2 separate regions of the Homo sapiens genome follow, and region 2 is linked to region 1. The links are contacts of gene promoters, found by promoter capture Hi-C in human tissues and cell types (Jung and others, 2019). All regions are on one chromosome and are shown on one strand. The core of a region is centred on a gene start or on the middle of the fragment in contact, and the rest is flanking DNA. Distances in the headings are between cores, read along the strand shown.

Region 1 (2,700 bases), core at 62-2,561:
GTGCTCGCTGCTGCGCTCAGTGTGAGCCGCAGCCCCTCCCCTCCCCCCGGCCGGAGCTGAACTCGGAGCCCAGGCCGGTCCCCGCTCTCCGCCCGCCCGGGGCTCTGCGGCGCCACCGCTGCCGCCGCCTCCCCGCGGAGTGACGCGCCCTGCAGCCAACCGGGGCAGCCGGGGGGGAGGTCCGGGAGGGGTCCTGGGCGGAGCCGGGCCGCCCCCTTATCCCACGGGCTCGGGGCTGCTTCTCCCGAAAACTTCAGCCCTAATTGTCCTGGGAATGTCCGAGGTAGAGAAAGGGAGCGAGGGAGCAAGCAAGAAGCTGGAGGATCAGTGCCCCTGGCGGGGAGGGGATGGGGTGGCGGGAGAACTGCCCCTCCCCCCAGCCACAAACCCATCAGGTTCCCAAACCTTTCCTGGATCCTCTTCTCCGCGCCCCCGCGAGCCCGGGATCCAGGGGATGGAGAACTCGGGGCGGAGGAGCGCCGAGCCAGGCGGGAGGGAGGCCGAGCCGTGGGCGGGAGGCGGACCGGCGTGGGGCTGGCTCTTCCCCACTCGCTTATTTTTTTTTTTAATGGGGGTGGGGGTGGGCTGCTTTCTGGTAGCTCTTAAAGAAACGAAGAAACACTCACGAAACGGGACGCCCTCCCCCCTGATCCCGCCGCGGGACTCCCTCCCCCCGCGGGCCGGCGCGCCTCGCCCCCGAGTTGGGAAGTTCGCAGCGCGCCGGCAGCCCGGGTCCCCAGCCCTCGCCGCCCGGCCCCACCCCCCACCCGGGGCGGCTCAATTCCGGGGAGGGCATGCTAATTTGGGTCGGCCCAGCCCGGGATTGTGGGGGGGGGCGAAGGAGGGAGGGAAGAGGGAGGGGAGAGGGAGAGAGCGGGGGGCGCCTGCCGGGGCGCCGGGCCCGCAGTGGAGAGGAGGCCGGCCCCCGGCGGCCGGGCCGCGGAGTCCCGGGCGGTCGCAAAGAGGGTTAACCCAGTGTCGGGCGGCGCGGCGCGCAGAGCCAGCCCCGCGGCCGGCTTATTGGGCCAGCGCGCGGAGAGACAGGGGTCTGCAGCAAATCACGAACTAATTGATTAAGGCGAGCGGGTTTGAATAGCGCTGGCCCGGTGCCAATCGCCTTTCAAAGAGCCCCTCTATGATTAATCGCAATGCATTATTGATAATCATAATTATAGCAGGACACATGCGCGCTGCGCCCGGGGCCGGGGAGCCGGGGAGGGGGCGGGCGGGCCGGCGGGCGGGGGGAGCCGCCGCCGCCGCCGCCGCTCGATTTCCGTAATTTTGAGAAGATTTTTTTTTAGTAATTTTTTATTCTGCCCCAGCTGATGTTTGAGCCAGCATGTCGCGGAGGAAGCAAGCGAAGCCTCAACATTTCCAATCCGACCCCGAAGTGGCCTCGCTCCCCCGGCGAGATGGTGAGTGCTCCGGCCCGCGCCGTGGACACACACACACGCACTCACACTCACGCACACTCGGACCCACTCACACGCGGCTGGCCCCCGCGCCCCCTACCTCACCGCCGCCGCGGCCCCGATTGCTTCTTCCACTCGGCGTAATTTTTTTTTTCTTTTTAATTTTCAATGTGCCTTTGCTGGGCTTTCCCCCGCTGCCCCGGGGAAAGCGAGCACATCTCCCGGCAGGATCTTTCCGGAGTTGTTGGGTCCTCCCGGGGGAAGGAGGGCGGGCATGCCGGCCTGGCTTCTCCGTCCCTGCTTTTCCGGGGATCCCAGCCGCGGCCAAGACCCGGGAGCCCCATGAGGCGTGGGTGCGGGTGGAGGTCGCCCCGGCCTGACCGCACGGGGCCCCTAGCGCTCCCGGCGCCGGCCCCAGGGCACCCGGCCCGGCCTCCGCCGCCCGGCCTTGCTGCCAGCGGTAAGGAAGTTTACTTCGGGCGCTGGGCTGAACTCCGAGCGTGGGGGAGTTCGCTGCGCCCCCCTGCCCCCACGCACACTCCCCCTCGGCCTGCGAGGCAGAACCGGGTGTCTTTGGAGGTTCAGAGCTGCAAGAAGATGGGGACTGGTGTCGGGGCGCCAGCGCCTGACCCGCTGGGGTTGCGGCCGGGGTGGAGAGTGCTGCTGGCCGCCAGTTGTTCCGGAGACGGTGCAAACGGACGGGGAAAGTGTCGGGGTCTGGCTCGCAAAATTTATCTCCGCATCTCTTCCCACAACACTTGCACCCTCTGCCCCCCAAAATCTTTCTGGTCGGTATGCGCCCTCTGCGGATCGTGGTGCTCCCTACTTCCAGGGGGGTCAGGGAAGAAGTCATAGAATAGTTTTCCAGGTTTGCGGGTGGCCAGCCAGAGTGGAATCCCCCCTGAAACAGGGGCACTTGTTTTCTCCGATGGAGGCGACAACTGTGGGTCCCGAAGGGGCTGAACAAGTCCAGAACAAAGTTTGTGTGTGGGGGCTATGGCAGAGAGTGGAAGAGATCCGGGCAGGGAGTTGGGGTACAAAGGGAGGACACCTGGAATCCCTCCTTGCTCCTAAAGGTGTTTCACGGTACCGGCCTCAAAGCTCCCAGGCCTAGCGCCCGAGGCGGTGTAGCGGCGCCCGGACTCGGGTCCCCGGGTCGTCCCGGCACGATGCTGGCCTCTCGGCTGTGGGAGGACGCACAAGGAGCAATCTCGGCGGGGTCTCAGCGGCTCCGGATGCCACTCGGGATGCCCACGCCCTAGGCGGCATTTTGGGGTGTGAAGGAGGG
Region 2 (2,700 bases), core at 159-2,658, 42 kb before region 1:
TGCCTAAAGGGTCCAATAATTCTTGCAAGCCTGTCTCACCTACTCCTTGGAGGTGCTCAAGTTAGTGGTAGAAGTGCCATGCGTTGCTTCCCTCCAGAAACACCCTCCCAAGACATGGCCTTCTTCTAACCTACCAGACATCTGCTGGGCATCTACACCCCGGCACTTTTACTCAGGATCTCTTTTCGTGTAATCCTAGCATTTCTGCCCATTTTACTGATGAGAACACCAAGGCTCAGGCAAATAAACTTACCTAAAGTTAGCATCTCAGCAGGATATGGTGTTCTGATGCCAAGAACAGTGCTCATTCCAAAACCCTAATGTTGTGGGGGGGTGGGGTGGGTTTCATCAGAAGGAGCCTTAGGGGAAGAATCTGTGGAATTTTGGTTGGTCTATTACCCTCTGTTATCTATATGTGTAACCTACTGCCATCATCATCACCATCAACTTCATAATCTCATCAAAAGATAATCATCTTCATTGCTGTTATGTTATGAGCAGCCAGTGACTGTGCTACCCAAATAATTTAGATCCATTGGCCCTTTGCTCAGGATAGTGGTGAAGAGTGGGGAATCTAAAATAGATGTCTTGGGTTTAAACACCAGTTCTTCTTCTTAACAGAGTGAGGGTGGCATCGGGCTTAGTCTCTTGCCCAATATTGCACAGGAAGTAAATGATGGTAGTCTGGATTAAACCCAGGCTTTTTGGTCCACAAAATGCATGTTATCCTGCCTCCCAGAGGCTGGGCATGGCTTTTAAACAGAGTTCTTGAGAAAATAATTCCAACATCTTCAAGGAGCATTCTACAGACTCATAGATGCCATCGAACAAACCTGAAAAGTCGAAGTAGTATTGGGATCACATCTTGCATCCATAGGTAAAAAGGAAGAAATTGGACATATGGACATTTTTTGAATCTCAGGTGGGCCTGGGGAAAACCAGAGCCCAAGCTTTCTTGCCACTTAGAGCATTACTGCCTGGAAGTCAAATGACTTCTTCATGTGGTCACAGGCCGGAATGAGCCCTCTGCTCCCTCCAGGACCTGCCTATCAACTCTCCCCACAAGTTTTCCTCCATCTTCTTCTTCTTTTTACAAGGATCACTCAGATAAAACATGATTTGCTGTTATAGAATGGCTATAGCCTACAGAAAGCTTCATACTCTACATAAGGGGAGTATATAATTACAATTATTGATTACTGAATAGTGTGTCAACTGTTGACCACTTTCAGAAAATTTCCCGGCACTAATGCATCCCACTATCATAAGATTCTTCTATGATACAATTCAGGCAAAAAATCCTTTCTTTCTCTGTGTGTGTGCAGGGTTGTGTGTGTGTGTGTGTGTGTGTGTGTGTGGTGTAGTTGCAATTGGTGGTATTATTTTTTTCCTAACTTCTTGAGTTGAATGTTTGGTTCATGTATTTTCAGTCTTAGGTTTTGATAAACCTATTTAAGGCTATAAATTGTTCTCTGAATACTACTTTAGCCATGTTAAAGAAGGTTCTGTAGAAGCACGGCTTGACATAGAACTCTGAATGCACAGAAATTGTTGAGGTGTGATCCAGGGAGGGAAAGAAGCAGGGGAGAGATGGGGAAGAAGCTGAGCATGGCTGTGGTCTTGAGTGATGTTAAGCTTAGCCTGAGGGAGGTGGGGCCTCTGAGAGGTAAGTTGCTCCTTAGGGACAGGATCAGCCATTCACTGGCTGTGGGCTGCTCGGGTAAGGATGAGTCTAACTCTGCCAAGAAGATGATAGCTCTGAGCCATTGGCAGCCAACACTCAGCAGCCAAAGAGTAGGTGTTCTAACTCCTGACCCAGCAAAGGGGATCTGGACCAGGTCCCAGTGTTAGCCCCCATACACAGCTCAAGTGTGCATGACTGAAGCATCCTCTGTACCAGCAAACGAGTACCTGAGTGCTGACATTGGAACTGCTAGCTTATGGTGAAAATAAAACAGAAGACACTTTTAGATGGTATTCTGACCTTAAATATTCCACAATCAATGCACCCTCTTATTGCATGCATGCCACTGCTGGTACACTGAAGGACACAGGGCTTCTGAGAGGAGGAGAAGCCAAGGAGCCATCTGCAGAATAACCAGGAGGTGTCCCATGGGCTTCATGTTCTCAGGACTCGGCTTTGTCCGTCACTCAACGGGAGCACACTAGGACCCACTCACGAGGGAGGTTTGAGGTCTTGTTCTCAAAGGTTCTCCCCATCTTCACCCCCCAACTTCTCATTCAATAAGAGAACAGAGCTTCTCTCTGAAGGAAGCACAGTTCAAGCCCCACCCAATCTGAGTATCCTTCCGTCTTTCTTAACAAAACTGTAACACCTAATACCCCCATTTCCGATCCTGGAAGAAATGGGAATGGAGAGAGTGACAATCTGATCTCTATATTCAGTGAGTTCTAAAATAATGCTAAAATGGCTCCAGGATGACCTTGATCTGAAGACACAGAAATTTCAACAGTGCATTCTCACAGATGTCTCCCTAAGACATTTTAGATGAAGACATCCCTAAGATGATCCCTTCAACTCAAGAAGGAAGATTCTGACGTTCTGGTGGTGCTGCTTCCCCTGCGGATATATTGCAGATCACTGCAGGTCAAACAGTGGCTGCATTTATTAAAAAGAGGATTCGTAGGAGGCAAGACGACCAAGGCTGCTTCTCACACAGCACCAAAGTGCTCCTCTTT

What was found. Contacts are between HindIII fragments. The study calls those that stand out against the background at their distance.
Region 2: a contact is called between a fragment that was not itself captured here and the fragment with the promoter of SALL1 in region 1, in 2 of the 25 tissues and cell types used here (mesenchymal stem cells and thymus).

The regions. Positions count from the first base shown.
Region 1 is chr16:51,149,881-51,152,580 of GRCh38, reverse strand. SALL1 (spalt like transcription factor 1) reads left to right here and starts at 1,311. Exons shown (of 3, transcript NM_002968.3): 1 at 1,311-1,415. The coding sequence starts at 1,340. RefSeq lists an enhancer at 1,614-2,114. The HindIII fragment of the contact is 9,229 bases long and covers 1-2,700 here.
Region 2 is chr16:51,192,091-51,194,790 of GRCh38, reverse strand. No RefSeq gene overlaps it. Among named protein-coding and RNA genes, the nearest start is that of SALL1, 42 kb to the right of the region's middle. The HindIII fragment of the contact is 4,236 bases long and covers 1-2,700 here.